Regions from separate parts of the Homo sapiens genome. Here regions 1, 2, 3, 5 and 6 are each linked to region 4. The links are contacts of gene promoters, found by promoter capture Hi-C in blood cells and fetal thymus (Javierre and others, 2016). All regions are on one chromosome and are shown on one strand. Each heading gives the region's core, a stretch centred on a gene start or on the middle of the fragment in contact. The rest is flanking DNA. Distances are from core to core; before and after follow the strand shown.

What was found. Contacts are between HindIII fragments. The CHiCAGO score rates a contact against its expected background, and 5 or more counts as called.
Region 1: a fragment that was not itself captured here is called in contact with the fragment with the promoter of PIGC in region 4 in 2 of 17 cell types (non-activated CD4 T cells and naive CD4 T cells); the score reaches 7.3 in non-activated CD4 T cells.
Region 2: a contact is called between a fragment that was not itself captured here and the fragment with the promoter of PIGC in region 4, in 4 of 17 cell types (naive CD8 T cells, naive CD4 T cells, total CD8 T cells and 1 more). The highest score is 6.7, in naive CD8 T cells.
Region 3: a fragment that was not itself captured here is called in contact with the fragment with the promoter of PIGC in region 4 in 8 of 17 cell types (non-activated CD4 T cells, activated CD4 T cells, total CD8 T cells and 5 more); the score reaches 6.9 in non-activated CD4 T cells.
Region 5: a contact is called between a fragment that was not itself captured here and the fragment with the promoter of PIGC in region 4, in 1 of 17 cell types (total B cells). The highest score is 5.2, in total B cells.
Region 6: a fragment that was not itself captured here is called in contact with the fragment with the promoter of PIGC in region 4 in 2 of 17 cell types (megakaryocytes and erythroblasts); the score reaches 7.7 in megakaryocytes.

Annotation. Positions count from the first base shown.
Region 1 is chr1:172,178,921-172,182,823 of GRCh38, reverse strand. The region is part of intron 14 of DNM3 (dynamin 3); the gene reads right to left. Among named protein-coding and RNA genes, the nearest start is that of DNM3OS, 36 kb to the right of the region's middle. RefSeq lists an enhancer at 1,629-1,678. The HindIII fragment of the contact is 1,836 bases long and covers 1,731-3,566 here.
Region 2 is chr1:172,110,685-172,114,646 of GRCh38, reverse strand. All of the region lies in intron 13 of DNM3 (dynamin 3), which reads right to left. Among named protein-coding and RNA genes, the nearest start is that of MIR3120, 26 kb to the left of the region's middle. The HindIII fragment of the contact is 2,904 bases long and covers 621-3,524 here.
Region 3 is chr1:172,128,049-172,131,762 of GRCh38, reverse strand. It overlaps DNM3 (dynamin 3), which reads right to left. Exons shown (of 21, transcript NM_015569.5): 14 at 475-588. Among named protein-coding and RNA genes, the nearest start is that of MIR3120, 8.9 kb to the left of the region's middle. The HindIII fragment of the contact is 1,978 bases long and covers 502-2,479 here.
Region 4 is chr1:172,441,709-172,445,588 of GRCh38, reverse strand. PIGC (phosphatidylinositol glycan anchor biosynthesis class C) reads left to right here and starts at 1,520. Exons shown (of 2, transcript NM_153747.2): 1 at 1,520-1,601; 2 at 2,759-3,880. The coding sequence starts at 2,967. The coding sequence ends at 3,860. C1orf105 (chromosome 1 open reading frame 105) reads right to left here. Exons shown (of 7, transcript NM_139240.4): 2 at 431-516. RefSeq lists enhancers at 1,132-1,441, 1,165-1,688. The HindIII fragment of the contact is 3,601 bases long and covers 926-3,880 here.
Region 5 is chr1:172,156,119-172,159,831 of GRCh38, reverse strand. The region is part of intron 14 of DNM3 (dynamin 3); the gene reads right to left. Among named protein-coding and RNA genes, the nearest start is that of DNM3OS, 13 kb to the right of the region's middle. The HindIII fragment of the contact is 2,871 bases long and covers 854-3,713 here.
Region 6 is chr1:172,733,937-172,737,479 of GRCh38, reverse strand. No RefSeq gene overlaps it. Among named protein-coding and RNA genes, the nearest start is that of FASLG, 77 kb to the right of the region's middle. The HindIII fragment of the contact is 1,346 bases long and covers 1,077-2,422 here.

The DNA of each region.
Region 1 (3,903 bases), core at 1,399-3,898, 260 kb after region 4:
TAAGCCTTCCTGCAATGGTATAAAAGATTGGGTATTCAACTTTTTCTACTTTTGTTTTCTCTCTTTGAATAAAAACAGAAACACAATCTTAGGACTCTGTGCCTAATGAGGCCCAGAATTTGAATTTTCAGGCAGTCTCTGAGGACAATGCAGATAGAGGGAGGGGCATGCAGAGCAGAAGGCCTCTCTATGCTCCACTTTAGTGAGTACCTCTGAGCAGGTTCATTGCAATTCATTTCATCTTTATTTTTGTCCTTAAACAGAGTAGGAGAAAAGCAAGTCTGTGGAGAACATTTTATTGAAATGAGTTGGATTTATTGCTGGACTTGGTTATCTTGTTTTTGAGGAAATATTTGCATTTGAGGGAAAAAGTGTGTTTTATTACTTCATCTCTAGTACCATTTAAGGTATGTAATGATGGTTAGACATCAACCTGCAAAATATTTCTTCAGAGCACCCTGTCCTCTAGCTTCTCATATCCCAGTGATGCCAGATCCTAAATTAATTTCATGCACACAAACTCAACATTATTATCTCCATTTTTATGCTTTATCTAGTGAGTTAAGCATCTTAGAGAAATCGTTTTTTTGTTTGTTTGTTTCCCCTAACTGATCTTGGACAGACTGTTAAAAAAAAAAAAACTATAAAATGTTGTCACATTTTTTTCCTCTTGACCAGACTTCACGTCCCAGCTTGATGACCTTCACACTACAATAATGTTGCCTATTTCTAATAGTAAAAAGTTCCAGTTCGTTATAACCAAAAACTCAAAGAAATCGACTATCAGTCTTGAAACCCCTTACATATTATCTTTAAATAGAGTTCATAAAGTTGTGGCAACACCCACCAAAAACAGACATGAGGCAGATTGATTCATCAGCACCTAATGAGTTAATTAAGAAACAAAAATACAAGAACACACAGAATTATGGCCAGCCTGGCCTTGCTTATTCAGTTTTAGTCAGAGACCACAACTTCTTTCAAATAACCCCAGTTTATTTTCAAAAAAAAAAAAAAAAACCCTGTCTTCAGACAGGATATGGGGGAGGAGTTAAGTGGTGATGTTTTACACATGCACATCTGGATACAGTCCAATTATTTCCCTTAAACATTCCCCCAGTTGTTTTCATTTTGCTCCATGCTTTGGCATTCATAAATTTGTGAGATTAATTGTGTGTCAGCAGTCTGCAGGCCTGGAGCTGGGCACCAGTTTAGTAGCAATACGGCTACAAAACAACTCTGTAGAGAAATACGTTCACATATTTAAAAAGGAAAGCATAGTCACATAGTTCGTTTCTGTTTAATATCAGGCATTGACGTTATGCATAAAGAAGGTAGTGTAATCTTTCAGGGAATTGCCCTAATAGCAAGATATATATAGATATATATCTCCACGCCTACCAGAAATATGTGTGTGTGTGTGTGTGTGTGTGTGTGTGTGTGTGTGTAAACTCAAGTGTTTTAAAGCATAAGAAAGGATTCATCAAGAGGAAAAATGAAGAGTTCAGGGCTGGACATATTTGTGTTCCTTGTTTTCATCTGATTATTTTGAAGGGCGTGTCAACAGATTGCATTTCTTGTCTTGGAAATGTACTAACAATTAAAATCACCTTTGCCAAAAAGAACCAACTTATCTTAGAGATGGTGGAGAAGCATCTTTATTTTAAAAGATGTTTTGCAAAGCCTCTTATGCTTTCAAAATTACTATATGAAAAGTGAAACTAGAAGCTTTCTGCCCTGATGTGTAGGCCTCACAGTCCAGATTATGAGCTCAGCTAAGGAAGAGCTGTGTTCCCCAGAGCCCAGCGGAGTGGCGGCACTTGGTAAGTGCTCCGTACTTGCCAGTTGACAACAAAAGAACTATCATTTAAATGTTGGTAAACAGATATTTATTCTTGTTTAATGTTATTTTGCCTTATATCCATGAGTAGGAAATAAACTATTAGATATTGTGACATTTTTCACAAGTAAATGCCACATGCCAAAGTAAGGTAATAGGTAGGGCAAATTTTCATACATATACATAACAGAGGAGAGTGTTCCAGATTAAAGTTCTGAGATTTGCAACATCAGTATTGGGAGGAAACTGGCAGCTTCTCCTCTAACCCTCTACAGAAACACAAAACAGCTATTGGAAACATGTAGAGCATTCCTCTGGAAAATAATTAGGCTTCAAATAAATCATATGCTATTCCTGCAATAAAAGAAGGAAACTTTTTATGATCTTCTGTTTTCCCTCAAGTATGCTATATGTTGAGAAGTTTTACCTAAATCACACTGTATTCTAGCAGTAAGCTCTTAATTATATAAGAAATAAAATGCATTGCAGATATTACAATGAATCCACTTGTCCTTAGACTATTTATCTATCAGAATATTTTCTAGGCCAATATATTTGAAGGCTACTGAGAAAATCACACACTGTTCTTTGGCTTTAGTTTCCTTGTGAGTAAAATGAGGTGCATAATCTCAGCCCTATCTACGATACAGGGTAAAAGTCAGGATCTAACGAGTGAAATTGGTAAACCATAAAGAACAAACAAGTGTTGGTTAGCATGCAGTAAACATACAAACTCTCCTACTCATGGTTCTGTATTGAAAAACCGAAATACATAGTATCTTATTCTTTACATAAATTAATTTACTGATCTTGAGACCTAACTGAATCATGATAGTATATCCACATAGACTAGATTTGTTCCTACAGGGCAAACTGCCATGCATTCATGCTAAACTATACAAGAGCAGCCAGGTAACAGAAGGCAATGCTGCTTCAAAAACACTGCAAATTTGACTCAGAACTCAGAGACACGGTATGATATTTGTAACATATTTACAGATACAATTAGGCTTTACTGAAGCTAATTGATTTTCACCACCTGAGCTTATTATCTACTAATGGTAGGGTTCTAGTCGTCTAATCCCTGCTATGTACGCCATGGGCGAAAATCTAATTAACCTCTCAGAGCCTTAGTTTTTTAATACATAAAAAAGTAATAACACCTGCTCTGATGAAGCTATTGTGAAGATTAAAATGTGAGATATGAAGAAGTGCTTTTACAGAGTAGTCACCCAGTACTTATTGGTTATATCTAAAAATTATTGAATCTGTATTCCCAAAACTATGCTGGAAAATAAGTCCAGAATTAAATAAGGCCACAAATAATCCAAGCAGAAATGATCCGGCATAGCATCATTAAAATATACACACATATTTATAAATATTGCCTGTATACATTTTTCTTAGAAAGTCCATGTAAGTTATACAGAAGCTGAAATAAACCATAGCAAAAAAAACTTCTCCCCTCTTCTCAATGACATCTTGAATTTAGCAGTTCTTATTTTATTTTAGTAGAATAATACTTCTATTAAATCACTTTAATGATAATTATAATTAATACTTATATAATCCTTTAACTTTTCAAAGCACGTTCATACCAATTATTTTCTTTTGGTTTCCAAACAACATTATGAAAATATAATCTTGAATTTAATACCAGTTAAATACTAGTGGGAGTAACAAACTTTGTCAAAACTAAGATGCAATAACACTACTCAGAAAAGCTTTGCAACACAACCAGTGGCCAAATTCCACTTCATTACATGTAGATCACAGTCCACAAATGACAATCAGTCACCACTAATAATAAACAAAAAATTTTTGGATTCTAGTCCAGGCAGGAGAATGCTTTTCATGAATGCAAAATTAGAGGTGACATTCTGAAAGTAGGCTCCACAAAACAACTAGCTCAGCATTCTAAGTCCAGTTTCATTCAAAGTACACACAGATAACTACTATCACCGCCCTGGCTTTAGAGTATTAGCTCACCCAGCAGTTCAAAGCATTCCTTATATTTTAGACTAGAGGAGGATCACCATTTTTGCTCTATTTTATGGACTGAG
Region 2 (3,962 bases), core at 823-3,322, 330 kb after region 4:
CATTACTCCAGAATATAGCATTATATAAGTAAGTGTTAGTACAGGGAACAAAAGGCACAAGTGCATGGAAGAGGAAAGGATCTCATTCATTAGATAAATTGGGATACCTTATTTCCTTTGTACTCTTGCCAAATTGCTGGGTAGGGCAGGTACATAAGTATATAGAGTCTTAGAGATTCTGTAATGGAAGAACCTTTATGAAGAGTACGAAACAGGTAGAAGTGATCACCTACATCTCAATATCCACACTAAAAACAGAAAGTGTCTTAGAACACCCAGCCTAATCTCTTTCCACTCTTTGCCACATGTTTCAGCCGCACTGGCTATCTTTTGGTTTCTACAACATGCAAGTTCTTTCTAGTCCTTGCTGTACCTTCTGGCAAGACTCTACCTTCTGACCTTTGCATGGTTAGCCACGACTTGTCATGCAGAACTCACCTTATACCATCCCTCTTCAGAGAGGTTCTCCTATTACCTCTCTCCACACTGCCCCTCCATCTTCACTTTTCCTCATAGCAACCAATTTTAATTCTCTACACTGAAAATATGTACAATTTCTTCTTGCTCATTTGTCTTTTTGTTGTTCATTTTCTATCTTTTCCACCACTAAAATATAAGCTTCATGAGAGAGTGAGAACTTAATCTGTCTTATTTACCACCCCACCCCCAGAAGAGTGTCTGGCATCGATTCAATACATAGGAAATTAAATCAGGAAATAATGTCAAAATCCCTTTTCTAGGCAGTAGGCAGTATTATTTGCCTCTTTGCATCAGATTATTTAAGAAGAAAAGACACTCACAATAAATTTGTGATTGAGATTGGCCTATCAGGGAATTAAAATGTGATTGACAACACAAAAGGGATAACTCACAGCTGATGCCACACGATGCAGGATGTGCTGTAAAATTTTGTGTAAACGCTTTGGGCACTTTTGTCAAGACCAATTTTTGATGCCAGGAAAGTAAAAATTTACGTTAAGAAAACATGGACTTCCTGAGTTGTTTTTTTTTTTTTTTTTTTTTTTTGAGACAGAGTTTTGCTCTTGTTGCCCAGGCTGGAGTGCAATGGTGCAATCTCAGCTCACCGCAACCTCCGCCCCCCAGGTTCAAGTGATTCTCCTGCCTCAGCCTCCCAAGTAGCTGGGATTACAGGCACCCGCCACCAGGCCCGACTAATTTTTTTGTATTTCTAGTAGAGATGGGGTTTCACCATGTCGGCCAGGCTGATCTCGAACTCCGACTTCCTGAGTTTCTTTGAGTACATCTGTTCCTCAATTGTAAAAAAGTGGGGGAGTGGCAGAAAGAGCTAATAATAGTATATCCCCTTATAGAATTGTGGTGAAAATTAAATGAGGGAATCCATAGAACAGGGCCTCACACATAGCAGGAAGTTAAGGAATGTTAACGTTACCAAGATAAAATTTAAAATAACAGTGGTCATTCTTGGAGTTTATTTTCTGAATATAATTTTTTACTTCTTTCCAATTTGACTTTCTTATCTCATCAAGACAAATCTTTCACTAAGGAAACCCTATTTACCTTTAATCATCAAACTATACTTTCAGTAAATACCCCACATTCAGTAAATAAATAAGGCATTAATTATAACCCTGAGGACTACTTTAAACTGCTAACGTTATTAAATTAGAGGAGCCATGAGAACTACTGGTTAAGTTAAAGTTTACTGGTACAATTCTGAGAATTCAAAAGGACAACTTTATTAATTGCAATAATAAAAATGGTTGCTAACCCTTAATGAATATTTACTATAAGCAGTGTGCACTTTACATGGATGTCTCACTAATCTTCTCAACAACCCTATGAGATTCACACTGCTCTTCCTCTTTTATCTTTGAACACTGTGAGGCATAGAGCGACTCAACCTTATGATGTGAATGATTCAGCTTACAAGTGGCAAGTGGGGCCCCAAACTCATCTCAAGCTCCAGGCCTATGCTATTAAATTCTCCCCTCTGTTTTCAGGGATAAAAAGACAGATATCACTACAGATTTTTATCACTGGAAAAAAAGCAATTCCTTTGACATTCAGGAATTGGTTATGTTTTCAGGAATGGCACATACTGGAAAATGGAAAGACTGAAGAGGTTCAGGGCCAGGGTCACTGTGATGAAAGAATCACTCAGATTTAAGAGTCAAAAGAGTACCAATGAGTGGAAAGGGCCAAGACTTTGTAGTTGATCCCTAGCTCCACCATATTAGTCACGTGGCCTTGGAGAAACCAGAGTGGAAGCAAACAATTGTGAGCCCCAGCTCTGGTGCTGGACTTCATGAGTTTAAATCCTAGCTCTACCACATACTACATGTGTCACCCCAGACAAGTTATCCAACCTCTCTGTGCCCCAGTTACCTCAGTCATGAAACCGTTGCTACCTAGACCATAAGGTCGTTGTGAAGATTAAGGAAAATAATGAATGTCAAGTGCTTACCACAAGGCTGGTATGTAAGAAATGCTTAATCATATCAGCTATTTTTATTATTATCCATCGAAATGAAGATAAGAGTATATGCTCTGCAAGGTTATTTTGAAGAACAAAGCACCTAACACACTGCCTGATATAAAACACCCATGCAATAAATTATAGCTATTATTATGATTATTAAAATATCAAATATTCCAGAGAATGACAGGTAGAAGTATAAATACGTAGAGCAGTTTCTGGGCAATCCTTCCAAAAGAATCTTCTGGTATGCAATATGGACATCATCACCAACAAAAGATCTCGTGACACCTTTGTAGTCAATGAAGTTTTATAATTTGTCCTTTGCAAAACCCTTAAATGGCTAAATTGAAAGTAACATTCTAAGATTAAAAAAAAAAAGGAGTCCATCTATTATACTATTTTAACAAATAAAGAAGCTCTGGTAGCCCATGTGGCTCTCTTTCTTCTATCTACTCTGTTCACTATCTGAGTTTAGCACTTACATCACCTTGTTTTGAATTACTCGCCACTGTGTTTGCTGTGCTCCCATTTTCCCAATAAGATTACAGCTTATTCGTTCAAAGCATAGACTTTCTGGGCTTTTAGGTCAGTTCTGCCATTTACTAGCTATGTGAACTTAGGCAACTTACTTAATATAGCCAAGCCTCATTTATTGTCAACTAAGAATTGGAACTAATAATCCTAAATTCAAATAGATTTTGTAAATACTAAGTGAGATGAATGTATATAAAGTACTCAATAGAATGTCTGGCATCAGTGAAGGGCTGATATTATTATCAAGTAGAGATCAACTGTGCTTTATACTCCTTTGGAATACCAAATACTTATACCTTCCCTAGATCACAGATTAGTCAATAAATTATTGGTACCATGGTTCTAAATCAAGGGCAATATCAACACCAAGGGCTACTGTAAACATGTAGCAGTCTTATTGTATTGTCACAATGTCTGGGAGGTCAAGGATGATAAAGGAAAATCTCTCCCATCTAAAGCAACAATAGCATCTGCTAGGGTTTTAATATAAGTCATAATTCAGTGGTTTGCTCTAATTGTTAATCAAGCTTAAATCAGTTTCTTTATTAGATTAGAATTTACTATGTTCAGAATCATATTTCAGAGCTACACGTATTTAATTTAATTTTATTTTTTTGAGACAAGGTCTCATTCTGTCACTCAGGCTGGAGTGCCCTGGCACAATTTCAGCTTACTGCAACCTCGATCTCCCCGGCTCAGGGGATCCTTCCACATTAGCCTCCTGAGTAGCTGACACTAAAGGCGCATGCCACCTTGTCCAGCTAATTTTTGTATCTTTCGTAGAGACAGGATTTTGTCATGTTGCCCAGGCTTGTCTCCAACTCCTGGGCTCAAGCAATCCACCTGCCTCACCCTTTCAAAGTGCTAGGATTACAGGCATGAGCAACTGCACCCAACCTACATGTAACAATTGTTGTGGTGACATATTTATTTAGATGGAAAACTGAAATAGTCACACCTGCAATGA
Region 3 (3,714 bases), core at 241-2,740, 310 kb after region 4:
AAGACTAGCGATGTGGACGTTCTTAAAAGCCTTTCATTTGAGACAGATGTCACAGGAACAATTCCAACATGCTTTATTAACTGTGCATCAATATTATTAATTTCACTCTTAAAATGTTCTATTACCTTGGGTCCTTCAACACTTTCTTTAACGAAAATTGTTTTCACTTTACCAGTACATTGACATGATTATAAAGAAGGAGGTTTTCAACTTTGATGCCTACCTCCATTTCTTCAGGTAAGCAAACATATGGTTACAGCAAAGAAATAAACAAAAAGAAAAAGAAATTTGGGCGAATATTGTAAACTTTAAAATCTATAAGAAAATAATAGTGCCTTTTTAAACAAACATTCCAAGCTTAATCTCACTGAAAGAGAACCACTGGTGTCTCAAAATTGCATAGTATAATAATATCAGTTAATTTAAAATGAGAAATACTTTAACAAGAAAACTTTATCACTCTCTGTGACTTACCTCATCATCTTTATACCAGGACAAGCTTTCCGCAGTAAGGACGAACCAGTATCCCTTCGAGCCGCCTTTCATGATGCCAATGTTGCTGATGGTGAGCCACCCCTTGCGAATCACCTACGAAAAAGCAGAAATCAGCAGAGGTGTTTAGTTTAACAAAAGCCACTGGAGATTAGATGTCTTGGACTAAGAAGTTAAAAACAAGATATTAATTGCAATAAAAATAGTATTTTCCCTCCAAACTCAACTTCCATTGAGTTATTCAAGAGAATTTATCTTCCAAAAGTGCAGATGAGTGAAGGGAAGTCTCTCCTGTCAATGAATGGAATAAAAATCTCAGACTCATCGATGGTTGAAGTGGAGTGACTGAAACAAGAATGAAGTGAGGCAAACTAATAGACTGTGTCAGGCCTACTTATGGCATTGTTGCTACAATTAAAACATATTTAGTTGACTGGATGAACAATAGACTCTCCATATCCACTGTCCCTTCCCCACTTCCAGCCTACTGGCCCATTTGTTTGCCTAGTTTGCAGCCCATTAGGATTTCCACCAGAGACCTGCCAGCAAATGACGAAAAGAAGAAACTCAATTCAATCAGTTAGCCCCTTGTTAGTCCTAAATAAGGCTGACTGAAGGAGAAAGATAAAATAATAAACTAAAATGAAAAGTTTGGAGTTTTTAATAGTCTTAATTTATAATTTGAACAGCATATTGTAAAATTTTAAACCTATGAAGTTTAAATCTTCTGGTTGTTCTCTACCATATTACAAAACATGTAGCATCTTCATAAAATTTTTTAAACAGGTTTTAAGTTTTAAAATATTAACAACTTGGATTATAGATTTAACAGAAATTATTTATAGATAAGTATTTATATAATTTAAGGAAAAATGTGAGGTTTTTTTCCCCTCAGAGTTATTGTGAAGTTAAATTCTGTTATCCAGAGGGCATCATTTACCATGTCCTCTATACAAGATAATTTTGTTGTCACAGAACTAGAAATGAAATGCTAAATGCAATTGGATGATATTGTTCTAAGGTCAAAAACTGTCCTACACTGAAATTCCTCAATATGTTGACATCCTGAAATGTTTAAAAATTACTTATTGAAAAACTAATGAATGTAAGTTACTAAAGGAAGATGAAAATACCCTAATAATCAGATTTCATTTTTATATTGCTATTAACTTTTCTAGTTGAAGAAGGAAGGCCAATCCCAGAGAAAATTATGGAATAGACCACGGTTCTCATCACTGTCTTCCAAGCCTCTCTCCATATTTCCAGCCCCTGTCACCCTTGATTCCCTGTTTCAGCATTGCCTTGGTGCCCAATTTCCATTTCAGTGTGCTGTTGCTTTTATAACCCCCATTTAGCATCCCTCTCCAGTCTGGGCTAATGCACTTTTCTCCACGGCTTTTTAACTCTCTACTTCACAAAGAACAGACTAATACTCAAAGTATAGTGATAGTATAGTATAGTGATATAGTTTAGCTATGTCCCCACCCAAATCTCATCTTAACTTTTAACTCCCACAATTCCCATGTGTCATGGGAGGAAACTGGTGGGAGGTAACTGAATTATGGGGGAAGATCTTTCCTGCACTGTTCTCGTGATAGTAAATGAGTCTCACAAGACCTGATGGAATAAAAATGGAAGTTTCCCTGCACAAGCTCTCTTTTTGTCTGCTGCCATCCATGTAAGACGTGACTTGTCTCTCTTTGCCTTCCACCATGATTGTGAGGCCTCCCCAGCCATGTGGAACTGTAAGTCCATTAAACCTCTTTTTCTTTTTCTTCCCAGTCTCGGGTATGTCTTTATCAGCAGCATGAAGACAGACTAATACAGTATGGTTTCTACCAGTTATATTACAATCATTCAAATGCTTTATAAAAATACAGATTCCTGGGCCACCTACCATTCCAAATGAATGAGAATGTATATATATGAAACCCAAAAATCTACATTTAAATATGTTGCCAAGGTGATTCTTATTCACAATGAAGCTTGAAGCCCGTGCATGCACACATACAATCAAACTTTATTTTCCATAGAGTAAATGATCACATCTATTTAATAGTTTTGAGTAAGAAGGAGCTGGTTAAATTATTTCACACTAAGACCATTACCCACCCTACCAGGGCTTACAAGTAGCATGCTAATCATACCACTCAATGAAAATATACTAGTTATTTCATTGTATCAGAGATGCAGAGCAAGGGTGCTGGCATCAGTATGTATAATAAATAAATATTAAATATGAATCTGAGCTTTCTTATTTTCTCGTTAAAACTACGTATCAGTAGATATCTTACTATAGTACCTGCGTTTCAATGGATCTTGCATGCTCCCTGGAACAGAGAAACTAGGTTATAAAACCCATTGCAATAACCCAAGTGAAATATGGCCAGGATATGAATTAAAGCCATGATGTATAAAGTTAAAAGGAAATGAACCTACTGAAGAAATATCTAGGAGGTAAAATCAACAGGATTTATGAGTGAATGAGAGTGGGATTAGTGAGGGGGAAAGACAGAAGTAGGTGATAGTGTAGCCGGTAGCCACTAACCACATATGGTGGTTGAGCCCTATTGACTAGTTTCCATTAAGATGTGCCATAAGTGTTCAAATAAACACTGAATTTTGAAAACTTAATACAAAAAATAATGTAAAATATCTCATTAATTTAAAACAATTATTGCATGTCAAAATGTATTTTACATATATTGGGCTAAATAAAATTCATTGTAAAAATTAATTTCATGTTTCCTTTTGTTTTTTAATGTGGCTATCAGAAATTTTTTAATTACATATGTAGCTTACATTATATTTTTATTGAACTGTGTGCTGTTTTAGAATGATTCTGAAACTATCGCAGCTACCAACTTTTAAAACCAACCATTCTAAAATTCAGAAGGAATAGAGGAAAAAGACCCAGTTTGGGAAACTGGAGGAGTTGACAAATTCAGCAAAGGCTATGCTGACTTTGAGGTAGCTGTAGGAAACACAGATGGAGTGTGATCTGACCTCTGAAGCAAAAGGAAGAGATTAGGATGGAGGTATAGACTTGCAAGTCCTCAGCACAAACACTGGTAGCGGTAAAACTCCAAGCAAAATAGCAGTGGTTCAAGATGGAATCCTCGGGGAAATATCAACATTTCAGAGGTAGTCACAAGAGTCTGTAAAGGAATGTCAGAGAAACAAAAGCAATAAGATCATGGAAGCCAAAGCCAAGGTGAATTT
Region 4 (3,880 bases), core at 271-2,770:
AACAGGAATGTAGGAGGGTGCCTCAAAGTTACATACAGAGTTACTATTCTATAAAGATGGGAACTTACTGTTCTAGACTTTTGATGGTAAAAATGTGAAAATTTCAGACTACAGCAGTGGAGAAAATGTGGGGTGAGAAAGAGGATGGAAGTGTTTTGAGAGACAGTGTCTAGGGGAAAAATTATCTTATACTGTTGAGTGGTAGTGGTGGAGAGGGAAAAATTTTGAGATCTCATCTCCTCTAGCCAGGCCTATACTCAGTGATCATTTTTTTCTGAGAAACCCGGATTATTTCTATTTTTAAAGCACTTGACTTGAGTTTCTCAATGGATCAAATGTGCCCTCTGATAATTGTCCCCATCCCTTAAGAAGAAATCATCTTCTGTGAGATGTTTCGTAAAACTTTTGCCCTCGGTGGCTGAGAGGTTACCTTCTGGGAAGGCTGAGCACTAATGGCTTGTTTACAAGGCTGGCCTCACTAAGCCAAGGAATCTTGTCAAATTTTGGAACAGAAGCCTAGAGGGAAATAGAGAACATTTTACAGAATATATCACACTTAAACATTGCTATCATTACGATGGCCAAAGTCAGCTAATAGCAGCCATATAGTGAACACTTTACAAACCATTTTTATATTTAACTCTTTAACCATCCTATAAAGTAGCCAAGTGCAAATAATGTCATCTCCATTTTACTGATGAAGAAATCAAAGCTCAGGTAGTGTGATTTGCCTTGAGTCACTGAGCTAGTAAATGGGTCATGTTTTCTGACTTTTATTTCCACTGTATCCTGTGTTTTACTACATCCCTTTGTTTCTTTATTACTTCCTTCTGTTTATATATCCTTTAATATTTCCATGAACTCAGTTTAATTAGCAATCTTGTCCTCACTTCTTTTAGGAGGTAAAGAGGAAAAAAACCAAGCTTTGAAGCTATAGACAACTGGATATTGATCTCTGTTCATCTACTTCCCAGGTGCCTGTCTTTGGACAAATACAACTTATCTGAGCCTTAGATTTGTCCTCTTTGAGGGGGGAGATGATATAATCAGTGTAAAGGTCAATGCACCAAAAAAGAGAGTTTCATGAGAGCAGCAATTTTTGTGTGTTTCATTCACGGCTGTATCATGAGCACCCCAAGCATGGCTTGTTACATGCAGGCATTCAATCAGTATCTGTGGAATGAACGCATGGATGCACGGGAAGTCCCAGCTGAGGGCCTGACTTAATAAAGGAGCGCAACAAAAGCGGCCATTATCTCTCACCTACTGGCCCAGCCTCTTTCCTTGTCCTCTCTTGCCTTACCCAGTCCTTCAGATGGCACATCCCATCTTTCAATAGGGGATTGCTGGGGATTTGCCTTCCTAGGCTCAGAGCATTCGGGTTTGGGCCAGTCTCCAGGAGAGGAGACCGGAGGTCCTTCGAGCAGCCAGGAGGGGGCAGCAGTCACGTCGCGATGGTTCCAGCCGGGGAAGGGTGCCCTCGCTAAGGAGATTGCGGCGGACCCGGAAGTGCTTGGCCACAGTCGCAGCCCCGGCGCCCCGAAGCGGGAAAAAGGCTGGGTGCCGCCGTCCCCCAGCTGCGCAACCCTAGGAACTCTCGGGTAGGTGGGTTCCGTGTAACGGTCAGTGTTTCCGGGGCTCCTTTTCCTCTGCTGCCTCCCGCAGACCCAAGGCTGAGTGAGGGGCGGCGGCGGAAGTGGGAGGCCCACCCAAAAAGCCAAATGGGGTGCCAGAAGAGTGAAGGCGCACCCTGGGGTCACCCTACCCTACCCCGTCCCCTCCCAGCCCCACTCTGCGGGCGGGCGCTGCCCTTTTGGGCGTCGCAGACCCTCCAACCCCGGCGGCGGCCTTAAGATTCCCGGGCTGGGATCCCTGCTGCAGAGGGGGTAACGGTGTCTGGCTTGCCAAGCAATATTTGTTGTGGTCTATCATGGAAGAAATAAAGTCGGGCAATATGAATTTTTTTTTTCTCAAATTTGCCGGATGGCTGTGGTGTTTCTGACTCTTAGTTTTCTCATTGTGAAAAAGGAATGATTATCTTCTTCGATCCTCTCAAGAGTTTCCTTGTTTTGAGTAGATTGATAGCTCTTTAAAGGATGCTAAGCTCAGCTAATGGAAGAAGAGTCTAGTTTCTTTGAGGCTTTGATTTTGGTTAAACTATAGAGCTCATACCTTTCTGTATGGTGCAGCTTACTATTGTCTTTGGATTGGTAACTTAAAAAATACAAATAACATGCCTTTGAGAACCAATAAAAACTATGGATATTATCCCTATAAATTTACACAAATCCAGATATAAGCATGCAATGTGATATACCTAAGGGATATGTGAACCACTGAGTTAAGAACTGCTTTAGAGGGAGATACAATGTGAGACACAGGCTTTGGGATAAGACTTTGGTTTGAATCCTGGCTCTGCTCTGTTACCTTAGGGCAAAGTTACTTAAGCATCTTGAATCTCAGCTTTTTTACCAAAGCAGGACTAATACTAACTTACAAGGTGGTGAGGATTAAGTGAAAGAAGATACATAAGGCACTTAGCACATAGTAGGTACTCAATAAGCGATAGCTAACAGATGTCTATTATTATTCAAGGAATTATAATTTTCAAATCTGAAATGCAGTTTTAATGTCCCATAAGGTGACTACCACATACATTTTTCTCAGACTTTTAGTAAACTGAGTTGATTTGACTTTATCTCAGTACTACTCTTGACCTTTCACAACTTTCGTAGGTTCACAGTCTCTCTTTTTCTAGGAACTTGGCTGTGTTGTCCTGCCTCAGAGACAAATTCATCTATTGTAGGCCTAGCCCCTGCCTTTGAAAACAAGGAAAGGTTGGTAGAACATCAACACAGCATGGAATTTCCAGGGAGGTCTCATTTCAAAACTTCATAAAGAACAAGAACCACCTGGACTTCTGTGAGGGCGATGATTAAACTGGCCTGAGTTTGAATGAAAGGATAATGTATGCTCAACCTGTGACTAACACCAAGGAGGTCAAGTGGCAGAAGGTCTTGTATGAGCGACAGCCCTTTCCTGATAACTATGTGGACCGGCGATTCCTGGAAGAGCTCCGGAAAAACATCCATGCTCGGAAATACCAATATTGGGCTGTGGTATTTGAGTCCAGTGTGGTGATCCAGCAGCTGTGCAGTGTTTGTGTTTTTGTGGTTATCTGGTGGTATATGGATGAGGGTCTTCTGGCCCCCCATTGGCTTTTAGGGACTGGTCTGGCTTCTTCACTGATTGGGTATGTTTTGTTTGATCTCATTGATGGAGGTGAAGGGCGGAAGAAGAGTGGGCAGACCCGGTGGGCTGACCTGAAGAGTGCCCTAGTCTTCATTACTTTCACTTATGGGTTTTCACCAGTGCTGAAGACCCTTACAGAGTCTGTCAGCACTGACACCATCTATGCCATGTCAGTCTTCATGCTGTTAGGCCATCTCATCTTTTTTGACTATGGTGCCAATGCTGCCATTGTATCCAGCACACTATCCTTGAACATGGCCATCTTTGCTTCTGTATGCTTGGCATCACGTCTTCCCCGGTCCCTGCATGCCTTCATCATGGTGACATTTGCCATTCAGATTTTTGCCCTGTGGCCCATGTTGCAGAAGAAACTAAAGGCATGTACTCCCCGGAGCTATGTGGGGGTCACACTGCTTTTTGCATTTTCAGCCGTGGGAGGCCTACTGTCCATTAGTGCTGTGGGAGCCGTACTCTTTGCCCTTCTGCTGATGTCTATCTCATGTCTGTGTCCATTCTACCTCATTCGCTTGCAGCTTTTTAAAGAAAACATTCATGGGCCTTGGGATGAAGCTGAAATCAAGGAAGACTTGTCCAGGTTCCTCAGTTAAATTAGGACATCCATTACATT
Region 5 (3,713 bases), core at 1,040-3,539, 290 kb after region 4:
ATGCATTTCTCTAAATGTATTCCCATTGTTAAGTGATGCATGACTGTAATTCACATTTTACAGCACAAACAGAATTAATAATTTCGTGTAGCCTTTTAGTGAAAATCTATTGTGGCCATTAGCTGATATTTTGCATCTATTTCATGAAGACACTCAAGAAACTCAACAACAGAGGGAGCACACACATTGCCAAATTCCTGCTGCAAAATAAAAGGCAGGAATAGAATCAAAAGTTTCCTAACATTCTATCCTGTACACAATTGATAGTCACATCATCTACTTCTTAAGATAGATTTCATGAAAATCAACTTAGCACTGGATCTCATTCACATTTGAAAGCTAAAGAAACATGTTTATACACATGCTAAATTTCTGAGGAGGACCAATCCATATGAAAATAAGTTCAGTTCTAGGTGGAGCAGACTATATTTACCACGGCAGTCTTGGACAATAACTCAATGTGAGATGAACTTGCTGTAGCAGAAACACAAACTTATTTTCAAGTAAAAATGCTTTTTCTGAAGATAATACATTTAAAAAGTGTGAGGCAAAGAAGACAAAAGTCTGATGAATCTAGTAGGACTCACACACAGGTAATGCTTGTTCTTTTCCATAGACGGCTTTTTTCTCCAACCATAACTTTTTTGCATAGCTTGGCATTAAGTAGAATGTAAAAAGAGGCAGTAATTAATAAATAATGCCAATGGGTCTCAAGTTGCAAGATAATTTTCCAAAGGACGAATGTGACCATTTAGATGACTTGACTCACTGCCTCTCTCATTTTGCCCCTTATTTGTGAGTATGTGATCATACATACATAGCAGCAAGCAAAACAACGCTTAGGTTTAAAGCTTGATCATGTGCAGAAAGAAGAGAACAAGATCCCCAGCATGTTTTTATCAACACTAAGATTATTCATAAAGGATTATTATTTTAATAAAGTAACACCTAATTTATTAAGCCATAATGCTTATAACTGTAGCTCACATAGTAGAGTATTAGGGAATCTTTTATTTAATAGTAAACACTTTTTTTAAGTATCAAAACTTTTTCTCTATTTTACATCAAACCTATCAATAAAACTTTAAATTCTTTACTTGTCTCTGAAAACAAACCCAAACAGTATCTTTTAGCAAGAGAGAGTTAGTTTATATATTGATTTTAAATTTGGACTTTAGATTTTTTCATTGGTTTGCTTCTATTGACTAGAAACATCTTTCTAATCAGTAGAAACCAAAAGTCCTCTGCCTAGGTTTCAAGGCCTCCATCATCCATCTCACTCATTTATTCAACCTTGTTTCCCTCTCTTCTCACTGCACACTGTCTGTTCTGGACAGGCGATCCTGGATGTTCTCTAGGTCTGTCTTTTCCACTGCCTGTGCCTTTGCTCATGTTCTTCCCACTAGCAGGAATGTTCTCCTTTTTTCATATGCTTCTTCATGGTCTCTCTGTTTTCCAGATCTACCTTCTCCTCCAAGAAACCTTCACTGGTACATTCCTGATCCCCTCTCCATGCCCATCATTGTACCACTCAGATCTTAAGCAGGTCCCAGTTATCAACCTTATCTACTCCTATTCTTCCCCTCACCTTATTCTAGCTCCTCTGGCCTCCAGGCACACTCTTGCCTCAGGGTCTTTGCACATACTGTTCCCACCATTTGAAAGGCTCTTTCCTCAGTCATCCGCATGCTTACTTCCTCACTGCTTGCCAATATAATCTCAAATACCACCTTTCTTAACCATGCTACTTAACATTGCAACCCCATTCCCAGATTTTCTATTCTCTTTCCTTACTATATTGTTTGCACTTTATTATCATGCAGGCAGGATTTTTGTCTGTTAAATTTACTGCTGTATCCCCAGTGCCTAGAATACTGTATGGCACATAGTAAGTACTCTAAATACCTGCTGAATACATTAAGTGAATTTACTGAATGTTAACTACAGTTGTCTCTTGGTGTCTGTGAGGGATTGTTTCCAGGACCTACCATGGATGTCAAAATCCAAAGATACTCAAGTCCCTTATATAAAATGGCACCATATTTGCATACAACCTATGTACATCCTCCTGTATACCTTAAATCATCTTATTTAAAGATTGTAAGTAATCACTTATAATACCTAATGCAGTGTAAATGCTGTGTAAATAGTTGTTATATCATATTGTTTAGGGAATAATGACAAGAAGAAAGCCTGTACATGTTCAGTACAGACCCAATTTTTTTCAAATATTTTCAATCTGCAATTGGTTGAATCCACAGATGTGAAACCCATGGAATTCAGAGGGTCAACTGTATATCCTAAGTGCTTCATAAATACAATAAATTAAATGAATTTACTGAAATGTATGTCCTAAATGCTTGATAAGTATTATCTTGTTTAATCCTCACAATACTCTATGGCAGAGGTTCCCAACCCCTGAACCACGAACGCAGTACCAGTCCTTGGCCTGTTAAGAACCAGGCCATACATATTTATAGCTGCTCTCTATCACTTGAATTACCACCTGAGCTCTGCCTCCTGTCAGATCAGCAGCAGTATTAGATTCTCACAGGAGTGCAAACCCAATTGTGAACTGCACATGCAAGGGATCTAGGGTGTGTGTTCCTTATGAGAATCTAATGCCTGATGATCTGTCGCTGTCTCCCATCATCCCCAGATGATGGAAAACAAGCTCAGGGTTCCCCCTGATTCTACGTTATGATAAGTTGTATACATATTTCATTATATATTACAATGGAATAATAATAGAAATAAAGTGCACAATAAATTTAATGCACTTGAATCATCCCAAAACCATCCACCTCATCCTGATCTGTGGAAAAATTGTCTTCCATGAAACCAGTCCCCGGTGCCAAAAAGGTTGGGGGTCTCCTGCTCTATGAGAAAGGTTCTATTACTCCCAATTTTGCAGATGGAAAAATGTAACACAGAGTGAATTAACTACAGTTAAGTAACTAGCAAGTGGCAGTGTTGGGAATCAAGTCTTCTAACTTAAAAGGACAATGTCTTTTGCACTTTATATGTCCTTTAATGCTTTATATGTCCTAAATGCTCTTACATACATTCTATCCTTACTGCAAAAATAAAAAAATGAGCGATTACTGAAAAGAGTTAGTTTATTTATAGTATACAATCACTTTCTAAAAAAGAATTTAAGGCAATTAGCTTTAGATATAATTTTTCTCTTCCAGAAAAAAACAGGAGGAGGAGGAGGGAAAGGAGGAGAAAAAAATGAACACCTACATTATAACAATTACTTGCCAACATTAGGCGAAAAAAAGTAGGGAACCCAAGGCTTGGCTCTAGTGTCTTTCTAGGAATTATTAGGTAAGAAAAACATCCTGAATCGTCTGGAACATGAAATAAATCTATACTAAGTCTAGGTACTCAAAACTAAGAAGATTACAAAAATATAAATTGCAGGCACCTAGTAAGTCCACAGTCTGTTAGTACTACAGAGCCTGGTCCAGGAGCCATTGTCCATAGGATAGGATGGGGATGGAGCATGAGTTTTAAGTAGAAACAATAAAACTGATGAAGGCTAACTGAGCTGTTATCTATACCATAAACACTGGGGTGGTCATATTAGATTTTTACAGCCAACAGCAGTTCTTACTGGTTGATGCCCCTACTGTCTGGGTTGCTAAATATTTTGGAAATCATCCCTGAAGCTAACATTTTTTTAAGTGCTTAATATACACTGGACACTA
Region 6 (3,543 bases), core at 500-2,999, 290 kb before region 4:
AGCCTGGGAGACAGGGTGAGCCTCCGTCAAAAAAAAAAAAAAAAGAAAGAAAGAAAAAATTAAACAACACCCTTCTAAATAACCCATTGATCAAAAAGTCTCAAGAGAATTCAGAAAATATTTTGACCTACTTAAATATGAAAAGAACATATCAAAAATTGGGGGATACAATTAAAGTCTATAAGCAGCTTACTATAAATATTATTATATAGATCAATTAAAAATAAAAGAATAGAAAATGACAAACCATCAACATACACTAACAAAAAGAATGCAAGAATGGCTATATTGTTATCAAAGCAAACTTCAGAACAAGGAACATTGTCAGGGAGGAAGAGAGGCAAACATACCAAGAACACATAACAATCCAGGTATGTATGTGCAAAACCACAGAGCTTCAAAATACATGAATCGAAAACTGATACAACTAAAAGGAAAAATGGACAAATCTACAATTATACTTGGAGACATCAAAGCACCTCCTGATAATTAACAGAAGTAGAAAATAGGCAAGAATTAAGAAGACCTGAACAACCAGAAAAGTGAACATTTTATAGCTGCTCAGTCCCTTGTCTTTTGAGAGAAAAAAAACATTCTAGAAAAGATAAAAATGAATTTATTTTATGAACAACCCTATTTGACCTAAGTTCCATGAACACTATTCTTCATCAACTAAATACTGGTTGGAACAGACTTATCTTTTATAAAAATTAACAGAAGTTATAATTCAATCTCTAGGTCATTTGTATGGCAGAAATATTACATATAGTTAATATTATTTACAAAGTCATGTTATTTTGACATTATGACAAATTGTGTCAGAAATGCCCAGAGTACCTTCTCTTAGCCTTTTCCTGGGGACTTAATTTTGTTTTTTCTTAGTTATGTCTAGATTTAATCATTGCTTCTGCCAATTCAGTTTCTAGGTTCTGATGTTCAGTTGTGTATAATAGACTATGAAATATAGTGATCTGATAGTTTACTAGCGTATTTAAAGGAAATATCTTTTAAAAGTAAATAGTTTGTGGCAGGCATCAGTCTATGAAAGGGAAGCCTAATTTTGAAAACTATAAGCTTTCATATTATATAATATGTGAAAACCTCATATATGTGAAAGCATTATCGCTATGTATTTTTAATAGCATTATACCAGAAATTTTTAGAAGATTATATACTTTTTAATTAAATTATAGCAGTGAAAATAGCAAACACAAGAACTAGATTTTGGACAGAAGAAGAAAGAAATACATAAAATCTCTTTCACCCTTTTTTCTGATTCTTTTTCAAAATAGCAAACTTTTGCCTGTTGTGACTGAAATGTACTACCAAATATGACTTCTCAGGGTCTTTCATATTTCAAATATTGTATCAATGTGTTTTATTTTTAATTCTCTAATTTATGATAACTTGTTTTTCTAGTTTGTGGTATGCAAAGATATGTGCAGAGCCTTTCAAATAAAGTGACTCTGAACAAAAACAAAAAAAAGAAGATCTGAACATTCTCCGTCAACTTGACCTAATTAATATTTATAAAGTATTCTGCCCTAGAACAAGAGAATATACATTCTTTTCAAGTGTATGTGGAACATTCACCAAGGTAGATCAGAGATTAGCAAACTATAACCTGTGGACAAAATTTCACCCACCATCTATTTTTGTAAATTAGTCTTATTGAGACATAACCATGCCAATTTGTTTGTGTGTTGTCTGTGGCTATTTTTGTGTCACAAAGGCAGAGATGAATAGTGCAGGAGAGACCATATGGCCCTAACACCAAAAGTATTTACTATCTGACCCTTTACAGAAAAGGTTACCTACCAATCTTCTGCACCATAAGCAAACTATAGCCAATTGAAAACAATAGAAAGCATTGTTTTCTTTGACCGTAAGAGAATTAAATTAGAAATTAATAACGAGGGTATCTGGAAAATTCCAAAAATTTTGGAAATTAAGTAAAACCTTTCTAAGTAACCCATTGATCAAAAAGGAAGTCTCAAGAGAATTCAGAAAATATTCTAAATTACCTAAATATTAAAATACAGGGCCAGACACAGTGGCTCCCACCTGTAATCCCAGCACTTTGGGAGGCCAAGGCAGGTGCTTCACTTGAGGCCAGGAGTTCAAGACCAGCCTGGCAAACATGATGAAACCCCATCTCTACTAAAGATACAAAAAAAATAGCTGGGAGTGGTGGCACACACCTGTAGTCCCAGCTACTGAGACACGAGACATGAGAATCACTTGAACCCGGGAGGTGGAGTTTGCAGTGACCCGAGATTGTGCCACTGCACTCCAGCCTGGGTAACAGAGTAAGACTCTTGTCTCAAAAAATAACTACATAAATAAATAATGTTTCAACTCTGGACAATATCCATTGACTTCCAGCCAAGAAACATGAGGAAAAAAAGAAAAGAATAAAGCTTTTAAATTTATATTCCAACTTTATACCTTAAGAAACTAGAAAAATAAGAGCAAATTAAACACAAAGCAAATGGAAGGAAGAAAATAAGAAAGAGCACAAATCAATAAAATTAAAAACACAAAATAGAGAACATTTATAAAATCAATTGTATTAAAACATCAAAATTATTAATAAACCCCTAGCCAGACTAAGACAGAAAAAAGATAACACAAATTATCAATATCAGGAATGAAAGAAGGGATATTACTACAGATACTACAGACATTAAAAGGGTACAAGAGAATACTACAAATAACTTTATGCCCATACATTCAATGACTTAAATAAAATGGAATAAATCTTTAAAGATACACTGCCAAAATTCACTTGAGAAGAAATAAGTAAACTGAGCCATCTATTAAAAGCTGAATTTATAGTTTAAAACCTTCCAACAAAGAAAAGTACCACAAGACTTCACTGATAATATCAACCAAACATTTGAGAAAGTAATAACATTAAATCAACATAATTTTTTCCAGAAAATAGACTAGGAGAAATATTTTCTAAATTTTTTTGTGAGGTCATCATTACCCTGACAACAAAACCAGACAAAATGTATGCAAGAGAATAAAATTACAAACCAATATCCTTCATGAGCATGATCACGAAAAATTCCCAATGAATTATTAACAAGTAATATCCAGGAACATATAAGAAGGAATATACACCATGAGCAAGATAAGTTTATCTACGAAATGAAAGAATGTTTCTTCATTTGAAAATCAATCAGTATAATTAATCATATCAGCAAACTAAAAAAAAAAAAACTATGTGATTATCTTGATTATCTTCATAGATGCAGAAAAAAACATTTGACAAAACTCAATGTCCAGTCATAATTTTTTTAAAAAACTTACAGCAAACTATAAATATAAGGTTGTCTTCTTAAACTGATTGAAGGCAGCTATGAAAAATGTACAGTTAATTTTTTATGGAGAAATAGTGAATACTTAGGACCAAGACAAGGCTAGCTGCTCTCACTACTCTTATTTGACATTGTACTTTCTGTTTAGCTAGTTCAGTAACACAAAAAAAGGAAGTAAAAAACATACAGATTGGAAAGGAGGAAATAAAACTTTTTA